Linked DNA regions of Homo sapiens: region 2 is linked to region 1. The links are contacts of gene promoters, found by promoter capture Hi-C in human tissues and cell types (Jung and others, 2019). All regions are on one chromosome and are shown on one strand. The core of a region is centred on a gene start or on the middle of the fragment in contact, and the rest is flanking DNA. Distances in the headings are between cores, read along the strand shown. Region 1 holds the start of RBMS3 (RNA binding motif single stranded interacting protein 3). Region 2 overlaps RBMS3 (RNA binding motif single stranded interacting protein 3).

Region 1 (5,243 bases), core at 1,839-4,338:
CAAAGAGTGGATTTTATGAATTCCACCCAGGCTTACCAAATAAATATAAGCAGCATGTACTTCATTTAAAATGATTATAAATTATATTTTGAGGTATAAGTGTAGAAGGAACAAAAAGTGATGTGGAAATAACCCAGTTGTTTTCCTGTTACACTGAAACATGATGGTACTTCATTGTATAGTATTAACCCTGTCAGAAAATCCCCAGTACCCACATTTTAAAATATGATTGCACATTGACTCTTCATCTCATTTCCTCTCTATGCAAGTTTCAAAACAGGGCACATTTTCTCATCTTCAGCTTCCAGGAATGCTATTAATGTCTGTCATTTCAGAGCCACCATAACAATACAGGACAACTTCAAAGCATTGTCAACATTTTACAACATAATAATCAATGTGAACTACCATGATAGGCAAAATAGCTGATCTTATATTCCCTACTATCCTGATCTGATTATCCAAATATCAACATAGGACGCCTAATGGATCTAACTTCTTTAAAAATGTTCCAGAAGTTCAAGGTGTTGGCTAGCTTGAGAGTAACAAGATCCAGATGCCGCCTGTCTATACAACACTAAACTACATAGAACTCCAAAACAGATATCTACAATCTCCCTATTTTTCAGGCTCCTCTCTTTTCCCTCACTACTCCACTCTCTCTCTTTACCCCCCATCTTTCTCTCTCTCGCACACACTTTCTACTAGTATAGCTCATCCAGCAGCCTGTGTCTTTGAAAAAATGTGCATAACATTCACTATTTCCTGTTAGTAATAGGTTAAAAGAAGTCTCAAACAGAAAAACAATTATGTTATTCATTTCAATCTAAAGTTTCTTTTCTGAATATATACCATAGTAGAAAACAAGGACCCGAAACAAAGTGTAATTTTTGAAACACTTGGAAAAATGTAGCCAAATGAGTAAAAGGGATGGAATGTCTGATATTTTTCATGCAACCTTTGAGTTTATTGTTTTTGTTTTGTTGAGGCATGAGAAATGACTGTAAATTTTCCCCTTTTAACTTGTCCTTGCTCTGCCATTTCCTTGAGGAATGGCAGGCAGCATTCTCAACCTAACACCCCCAAAGAGTTAAAACTTAAGGCACCGAGCAGGAGGGCTAGTCTATTTAAGCATCAGCAGCACAAACTAAATGCTCACAAAGGCAAATAGCAGTGTGAGTCGACCTTGGAGGGGCAGGGTGGATTACAAAGCAATTGAAAAAGAAAAAAACAAAGCAATAATCTTTTGTATAATACTGAAAGTCTGCTTCCCAGTCTGGTTTACAAATAGGCGTTGCTGGACGAGACAAAATAAATGACAGATAACTACAGCATGAATTACCTAACCCTAATCACATCACCGAGTCCTGGTGACAGCATAGATCATTCAGGCACGCCTTGTTCACTCTCGGCATATTTATTTATTAAGGAGACGGTGGAGTCTGGCTAATGCTAATGCAATACAAAATAATATCACCCGTACACTCGAGGTGGTCACTCCGCTAACATGTTTTCCCCCTAATCAAGTCCAATTTAATTGACAAATCGGAGCAGTGATTTCACACCTGAGAGTCTTTCATGTCTTAACTGCAGGATAAAGTTCAGGGTAGGTACTGCCCACTGCTTACTTACGTGGGCTTGCCTCTGGGCCCCTAATGGTCATTTGACACACACACATAAAGCCTAAAGTATTTAACCAATTCAAGTCCAATTATGATCAGTTACATTTCATTCCTTTTCAAGACTCAGGCCTCCTCATGGCAGCTACACAGAAAAATAGATCTTCTAAAAGTAAAGAACATCTATTGTAAAGCAGTCTGTAGCATGCTGATCATCCTCAACATAAAATAAAATAGGCAAGGCAAATTAAAAATAAAAATAAACTCTCAGAGACTCTGGTAGGAGCCCTATACCTTCTCACACCCTTCTTTCATTCTATACCCTGCGATTAAAAGTTTGAGTTACCCCCACCGTTGCACGTCCTATCCAGTGGGAAAAACCCTTTTAGAGCCACAATCAAAGAACAGCTCACCAGAAAAGCCCCTGAAATTATATTCTTGTGCCTGGTAATCACTGTTGTGATCTGCTTTCTAAAAACCGTGCCCATCTGCAAAAGACGTTCCTGATATCAGGACCATTTATGCTGCCAAATAACAACAAAGAAACTGAACTCAAGTGAAACTATTATCTCTCCTTAAAGAGAAAGCTACAATTCCGGGTTTGCTGCTTTCTTCTTATGTCTTCCTCTGCCTCATTAACTCCATTGGTATGTCACTAATTTCAAAGAAGCAGGAAGAAGTGATGGGGGTGGGGGTTAACTAATAATTCACACGCCTGTCTGTTTCCCATCCCAAGTGCAGAACGATACCACGCTGATCGCCAGACCGTGGGTCAAGCCATACCTTGGTTTGGAGATAATGAGGATAGTAGTAAGTGTACTGGGGGTACATTTGTGGCTGATCCAGGCGTTTGCCCATGTAGCTGGAATCTTTATCTCCGAGGCAGGGAACTGGATGACAGGGTATAGTGCCCCAGGCCGAGCTTCCTCTTAAACCACTATTCCTGACAGTCCCGGTGACTGATGAGGCTTCAGAGACTCCACCACTCGCTAGTTCCAACACAGCAAGAATTTTTTTAAAAAACAAAACAAAACAAAAAACACACACCAAAGGAAAAAAAAAAAGGGCGAGGAGTGAGATCTGTAGAAAAAACACCCACACACAGCCTTCCCAGATCTTGCCTGGCTTCCCCCAGCTGCCGGGGTCCACTTGGGATGAGGCAGTTTGTTCTCTAACCAGGCTGTCTGTAGTGATGTCAATTGCCAGCGTTCGTAAAGGGGGAAAAAAATCAAAGTCCTTTTAGCACAACTCCGAATCCTTGCAGATCAGCTTCCTGTCTCTTGGTTGTCTCTTTCCCCACCTTAAAGAAAAAGAAAAAAGAGAGAGAGAAAGAGAAAGAAAGAAAGAAAAAGAAAGAAAGAAAGAAAAAGAAAGGGGAAAAAGAAAAAAAAAAAGAAAAAAAGGAAGAAAAAAAAAAAAAAAAAACCTTGTACAGCTTAGTTGCTGCTGTCTCCCTCCCAGAGTGACATGGTGTTCGGGGCTTGTCCTGTCCTTTCATTCACTTCCCCTCCTTCCAGCCGGTGGGTGGAACCGAGAGAGCCTCTCCAGGGAGCAGCGTACGCAGTCCAGAAGGCTGCAGTATTTCCTCCAAGAAAAAAAAAAAAAAAGGCTGCTTCAACCCCTGCTGCAAGCAAAGTTCCGATTCCCTCTGCTGGCTATCTCGAATAGCAAGCGATTTTTGCAGCAACGCTGCTGCCGCTGGAACTGAACCTGAAGAACTCAAATGCGGGCGGTGGATTATTTCTTATCCCTCCTCCATCTACCCCACACAAGAGCTGCTTTTTGTTCCTCTTTTTGCCAAGTTCCAAGGTAAGCCACACTGCTAAACAAAACACAGAAGAGAGGGAAGAGAGGACGAAAGAAGGAAGGAGGAGAAAGGAAAAGAAATAAAGGCAGGGGAACTAACCTTGCTGGTTAAAGGGGAAAAAAGTAAGTCCCGGATGCTTTCAAAATCTGTTAACACGCTAGAGCCAGACGCATCCAAGAGCTGATTGAGAAACTAACCTTTTACTACCTGGAAAACTTGGTGGATGTTAAGTATTGAAGAAATTTTAGGGTCTACTCCAGGACTACTATTAATGCCACATGTCATCAGATTGGACTGATCAACTGAACATATCAAAAATAATAACTTTTTTAAAATACATCCATTTTGTAAAAAAAAAAAAAAAAAAAATCAAAGGAAGTGACCCCTTAGGTTCGTCAGATATTTTACAGATAAAATCTGTTTCTCCCATTGTCTCTCTCTTTATGATTATTTTGTTGCATTGATGCTTTAATCACTTTACTGATATCATCTAAAAAAAAAAGAACAAAAATCATAATTGCTTGGCAGAGTTTTTTCCCACCAATGATAATATTCTGTCATGTCTATCAGCTGCTACATTATAATACAAATTGTTTCAGATAAAATATATTTCCTTAAAGGGTCCCTTTTCAAGGCGGGCGAGGCTAAAATTAGATGTGCCAGCTGTGTTTTGCTGCGAGTGCTCACGCATGCCCAAAGCGTGGGCAGACCAATACTGAGCTCTTTTCTACTTTGTCAAGTCGGCTCTGTTCTCCTGAGCCCAGAGTCTCCTATTTAGATAAAAGGTCCCTGGTACAAATCCAGCTTCCTAGTCAAGAAGAACAGAGAATTTGGGCTCAGTGCACACATGGTGTCCATCCACATACAAGCCGCACCACCCCTAAAGCAACTGGCTTCCACCGAGGGGAACTGGTTTCTGGAAGCTGTGTGAGTGCATACGTGTTCCTTGGATAAAAATAAGGATGGCAGGTAAATAGTTTTATGTTTTACTTTTGACAAGAATAACAATCAGAAGGAAGGAAGGATGGAGGGTGAGAGGGTAAGAGTTAGGAGGCCCTGACAACATGGTGATTGAGAATATTAAATCAACCCCACCTATCTCTTAAATGTATTATTTGGGGCCTCAGTTGTCCCATCTATAAAATAGAAATACTGCCAACTCTCCTGGCTGAAGGCAGTACACTGAATCAGACACTAAAAATGACACTGATTTAAAAATCCTCCAGTGGTGTCACGTTTCTCAAACAATAAAGTCCTGACTCTTTGGAATAGGTTTCAGGACACTTGACGAGCTGTCTGGCCCTGGCTTTCTACTCTAGTCTCGGACTTTCAACTCTGCCCCTCACATCCTATACCGGAGTCACTCTGAGCTACTTTCAGGACAGGAACATGCTCTCAGAGGCTTCTGTCATTCCCTCTTCCTGGAGTGCTCTCCCAAGTCCATCTCCACCTCTTTTACCCTTCAGCCTGTCCTTCAGGTCTCAGTATGGATATCACCTCCTCACAGTAGCTTTCTCTAAACCCTTCCTTCTCTGCTGCACTTTATATTTGCCCTCATAGAAGGCTTATTCTACATGTATTTGCCTGCTTATTGTTTGTTTCTTCCATGATGTTCTAAACTCTAGGGGGGCAGGAGGTCACATTGTTCTCACTTGCCTTTATATTTCCAAAAACTTGCATAGAGTTGAGCACAAAATGGGTGTTCAGTAAATGTCTGAAGAATAAAATGTTAGACATAATTAATAATTTTTCAACCTGACTTACATCCCTCTTTCAGTACATTTCAGTCCCTGTTACAGGTCAAGAATTGACCTGGG
Region 2 (5,973 bases), core at 3,474-5,973, 330 kb before region 1:
TATCCATTGAAAGATTAACTTGAATTACGAACTTATGAAGATTCTTTGACTCACTCAATACCTGCATTTTTTTCTGGCATACAAGATTGACTTTTTATTGCTTTGTACAGTATGCAATTACATAAAATACACATCAAACTCATCCAAATACCCAGTCATTTAGCTGTCTGTTTGGTGTACTCATACATTCTGTCATATACTGTGAGCAGAATACAGCCGAATTTGATCAGGCTGCTGTTTACAATTTACAACAGGGACCTCTAAATGACTCCTTTTTGGTATGTTTCTGGAAAGGTCAGGCACCAACGTGTTTTACCAAATAAAACTCAGGTTTGAAGAATATGCCTTCTAAACGGATTTTTACTACCTGGACTTTAATAAGTTTTACAGGGCTTCTTTGTTAAATTGCCCTGACAATTTCCATTTCCAGTTGCTTCAATCATATTAACAGAAGGTAAAGTTCACAAATAGTAAAATATGTCATTGAACTGCATTTGGGTTTTCAGAAATAGATCACACACCTGACAAACACACAAGACATAATGTTCAGCATTCTAATTCATGTTTGGCTTGGCATATCTCATTTGGGGCAGAACAAGATGCCCTACCACAAATGGAAGTATCTCATTACTCAGGAAATAAGACATGTCTGCACCAAAGACTTGACAAATCCCATTAACTGTATAAGAAGAAGGATGATTTTTTTTTTCCCTTAAGGAAAGGCAGAAAGGTCAGGGATCTGTGGTAGAAAATATGTGTGTAGATACATTAATGCTTGTGTCATTTTAAAAATATATGTGTAAAATTATACCAGAATGCATGACTCTCTTACAGAAGTACTTCTCCTTCAAAAATATGGTGTCATGCTCTATTCACAGCTGGGGTCAGCAAGAATGAGACCAGCGAGTGTTTTCTAGGAATTAAATAAGACCATTCAGTTTTTTGAAGGCTCATTAACAGATCCACAATCTACTATGTATCTTTCTGTTGGTATCTATTATTTCAGTTCCTGCATAGCAGTTATGAGGCTAACAGTGTGGGAGAGATCAGAAGGAAAGAGTCAATGCAAAAATGCTTTAAGGCCTTTGACAGGCTAATTACAAGAAGCTAGAAAGGATCAAGGAAGGCTCAAAGAAGGGGCGATAAGTGAATATGGGTGGAGGCACTGTCCCTCAAAATGGTCCTGCAAGAAGTGGCATCTACACAGACATCTGAAAAATGACTTTGTGTTACTTCATCAAGGTGGGTAACAGAGGGTGGTGAGAGTCAGTCTTATCCATAGGCCTGGACTTGAGAAAGAACATGACAAATTATGGTGACTACTGCATAAAATTTATTTCTTGTAGGTATTTAGCCTTACATTAGTTTGCTACTGTTTCTAGCTGATGTTTGTACATTAATCTGTCATATTCATTCTAGAGTGTACCTGTATTCACGACAGGGTCCACATTTATCTTGTATCATCTTTCATCAGTTAATACCCCATATCTCCCTGGATATTTGTCCTCAAATAAAAAATAAGTCATCTAAAATATTTAGAATAAAGATTTAAAGGGAACTTATTTTAGAATAGGCTTTAATTCAAAGTAAAATTGATTTTTAAAATTAATGTTTCTACTTATGAGAAAAGGCTGAAATGTTTTAGCAGCATACATGCAAATAGGATTAGGTCAAATGAACAGAAAAGCTCTACGTGCACCTCAAAGCAAATGTATATTAATAATTCTTTGACTTGGACATGGGTTCAATAATAATCTGTTTCCCTTTTTGTGCACGAATCCCCTTGCATCTGATTAGAAAGGAAGCTCTGCACATCCTGACACTGACATATACACACCTTATTTGAGTGTCTGAATTATCACAGTTTAATACAAATTTTAAAAGGGAAGAATTCCTTCTACAAACCTCTTTCAATCAGTCACCCATCAACTCAACAAATATTTACTCAGCATCTACCATGTATCAGGCCTTTTGCCAGGCACAGAGGCAACAAGAGGCTCCCTGTTCTCCAGTATCTATAAATGTAGAGATGACAGCAGTACAGATTCTCCACTGATAGGCACTAGTATTATTTGTGTATGGTTATGCTGGTTGTTTACATAGTGAAATACTTCCACCCATACCTGTTGGAAAACAGCTGCTGACTGAACCCTCCCCCTACCAAGTGTCTTCTGGACTGCCTCATTCACCTGACTCCTCCCTTAGGATGCCCAGAATCACTGTACAATCCAGTTAAAACCTAGGATAGATAAGAGGGCACCCAGGACCCTTTCATCAGTTCTTTCATTGAGGTCTGTGCTTCCTGGTCATTGACAGTGCCATACTGCCAGTCCAATACTGCAGTTGTCACCTCTACATATGGATCAACAGTCTGGACCAGTACTACATTAAGTGTCATCTTCACTTAAAGTGTTCGTTAACCTGTCTCAGAAGAAACAGGGACAGAAATGCAGAGTAAGCATTTAGAAACTTTTATATTCATTTGATAGATGAGTTTTATGTCTATATCTTTGTTTTCCTTTATTTTATTTTTCTGGTAATTTATTTTTATTATATTTTATAAAAGCATCAGTCCACAACAGTTTGGAAATAAAAATAACTAGTTCTACAACATTCAGATAGTGAGAAGTAAGCACTCCACTCATCCAACATTCTGCAGTGAATGCTGCCCATAAAGAATATGAATGAAATTTATAAGGAATACATAAACCACACTTTCTATTAACATAAGAGAAGACTTCTGCCTCCCCCTACTATTCTCCCTAATGCAAACAAGGAGCACAGAAGAGAGACGTATTTACACACAAAAATATGCCATTAAGCACATTCAGTTTCTGCATTCACTCAGGGACTATTTGGATCTCTTGCCCTCTCAGCTATTCTAGTTAAAGGGTAAATTAAGCTATACTTTCCCTAAGCAGTTTTGGTGAATGTATCTAGCTCCTCATTTTTACCTTGACTATATTCTTCTCTCATCTCAGCTCGTTCATGCAGTTTAATACATGCATGCAGCATGTGTTAAACTATGTATAAAACTTAGATGAGTAATTCATGTAAATTAAGAAGTATATTCTGTCATCTTTGGTCATCTAAATAATAGACTATCAGCCAAAATCAACCCCAAGGGATTAGCTTGGAACATTTTCTGTGTAATTGTATAATCTTGACTTTAAGCAGCATATAACTAATCCTTATATCACAATGAAACTAAGAATGTAAGAAGAAATGTGTTATGCCTTATCTTTAATATTCTACTAGCTTTATTACACTAAGTTTTAAGTCATTTTTCTAGCTAATTCTCAATTATTTAATTGGAAAGATTTGTTTGATTTTAACTCAGAATATTCCGTCTTATTACGATACTTCCACAAAAGTTAATGCTGCTTTAAAAAAATACCTCAATCTGGATGATGAATACATACCAATTCTTGGCTGGTAGAGGCAAATGGTAAAATATATATAGGTGAAATAATATGATGTCTGGGATATAGACAGACATATTATTTTATCTATAAATATTATAAAATAATATAATGTATTCTTGAAGAGTGAGAAAGTGGTAAAATAGTTGGATGAAATAAGATTCATAGTAGAATAAATGTTGAAGCTGGATGATGGGCATGTTGAGATTTCTCGTACCATGTAAATTACACTATTTTCTCTGCTTTTGTGTATGTTTCATAAATTCTATAGTAAAGGCAAAATATACACAAAATATGCATATACCTATCTTTTTCCACAAAGCTTATTTTTTTCTTAAGACTAGCAGCAAAGAATTAATATTGTAAAGGAATATACAAAATTTATGATCAAGATAGTGAAAACAATTAATTAATTGGTTAGATTTTGTTGTAATATGTTCTGATTGGGAACTTTAAACAGAGAATAATATGAAACTTACAACAGAGCAAGACATGAATTTTCTCCATGTAAAGTAAAAATGTAAAATGTTTAAATTTTCTTTCTAGTAAAGGTATTTGGGAAAAAAAATCAAATTCAGAGATTTAAAAACAGGCAATCCTTTTGCCAATTGTACAGCTGCTATGGTCTGAATGTTGCATCCCCCCAAAATGCTTATTTTGAAATAGTAACTCCAAAAATGATGATATTGGGTGGTGGGGCCTTTTGGGAATCATTAGATCATAAAGGCAGAACCCTCATATATGGGAATAATATCCTTATAAAATAGGCACAGAACTTGTTTGCCCCTTCCACAGTGTGAGGACACAGCTGGAAGGCTCCATTTGAGACAGGAACCAGGCCCTCAACAGACACTGAATCTGTCAGCACCTTGATCTTGGACTTCCCAGCCTCCAAAACTCTGAGAAATAAATTTCTGTTGTTTATAAGCTACCTAGTCTATGGCATTTTACTATAACAGCCCAATGGGACTAAGGCAACAAAAAATAGAATGGAACTTTAAATAAAATATTTAATAGCTTATTATTGAAATCTCAATAATCATAAATATCTAAAATGTGTAATAACTTGACATGATAACCAAATATTTAAAATGTACCCAATACAGCAATTCTGAAACCCACACAGAATGTTTGCCATTTTCCAGCATACTCCATACACTGACTTTAATAGAATATTTAGGTTTAGTGAAACTGTGAAGCAAACAGTACTTTTTTCTCTGTCAGATTATTTTATTTATTAATTTATCTGGCATAGTTTGCCTGTTGTTTGTATTGCATATTATAGAATGCTTTACATGAGAAAAATTTCACTCTAAATTAATACAATGGAAAAATTTTCAATTCAAAGAAAAAAATAGCACATTGATGGATAGAATTTTTTCTATGTTTTATCTCATGTATTTTCTGAAACATTGGCATGGGCAACATTTGTCTGCAAGTGAGCACTAGAAGATAAAAGAATGAATAAACAAATAGTAAAGGAACAATACAGAAAAACTCAGAAACAGCTGTGAATGTTTAATCTGGTTGCTGTTTTTTTTCCCATGTCCACTTATGTCTGGTTGTGATTTTATATTGCATATATAAAATACAGTCATATGTTCTGCTCATGAAATTGACCCTACTTATTATAAGAAATTAGACATGACAGCTTCTCATGGATGCTTTATACAAAGAGAGTCTGAGAAGTCTGAGGAAGATTCTAATGACATGAGCAAAATGTGTCCAACTCCAGCTCTGATTCCAAATTCTATTTGTTATTGAAATCCTCTGGGATCCAGTAAATTTTATGTTGATGTTCAAAATAAGTCAAACACACTTGAAATGTTTGTCAGTAAAATCTTTTGGTATACAAGTGACCATGTCAGAATGTCTAGCATCCTGTAAGCCAAGTAGTGATCCATAAATATTTGCATAAACCTTGATGGGAATCAGGTTCCAAATAATAGGGTCTTTAAACATCAATCATATGACAATGCGAAGGGATTGTTATTACACCACTGAGTGTGTGGTGAATAAAATCTAGGAGTGAGAAAAGACAGCCATCCCCTATTTAATTTATCATTAAGCAACCTAAAGACTTAAGGAATAGACAATCTGCAACCTCACAGTACTGGAGTATGATTCAGCAAAACTCCTACTTACTAAGAAAGGTCAAACTGTAAACTGTGAGTTTCACCAAAGCTAGGATGGTATAACTCATAAGATATATATACACTTCCAAGGAGTTAGAAAAAAAAAAAAAAACTACCTTGTTTCATGTCTTAACAAAGCCAGAAAGAGGGGAAAATGCAAGAAAACCACATACTAAGGTCAAACTGCTATATCTGACCAGGTTCTAAATAGTTGTGACGATCTTCTTGGAAGTGCAATGAACATGTTAGCAACATTAGTACAAAAGGACACAAATCATCAGTACTAGCATTCTTGACATGGTATACTAAATCCACCCACTAAAGTCAACTTAGGGAGAATATTAAAAAAGGGTCCCAAAGCTGTACTGTTCCCCGCCTTGTAGAATCTGAACTGCCAAAGTCAAGCATAACTGAAA

What was found. Contacts are between HindIII fragments. The study calls those that stand out against the background at their distance.
Region 2: a contact is called between a fragment that was not itself captured here and the fragment with the promoter of RBMS3 in region 1, in 1 of the 25 tissues and cell types used here (mesenchymal stem cells).

The regions. Positions count from the first base shown.
Region 1 is chr3:29,278,916-29,284,158 of GRCh38, reverse strand. RBMS3 (RNA binding motif single stranded interacting protein 3) reads right to left here and starts at 3,088. Exons shown (of 15, transcript NM_001003793.3): 1 at 2,403-3,088. The coding sequence starts at 2,477. It overlaps RBMS3-AS3 (RBMS3 antisense RNA 3), which reads left to right and starts at 3,220. Exons shown (of 3, transcript NR_109804.1): 1 at 3,220-3,428. RefSeq lists an enhancer at 4,184-4,233. The HindIII fragment of the contact is 9,133 bases long and covers 1-5,243 here.
Region 2 is chr3:29,605,665-29,611,637 of GRCh38, reverse strand. The region is part of intron 4 of RBMS3 (RNA binding motif single stranded interacting protein 3); the gene reads right to left. Among named protein-coding and RNA genes, the nearest start is that of RBMS3-AS2, 34 kb to the left of the region's middle. The HindIII fragment of the contact is 6,866 bases long and covers 1,291-5,973 here.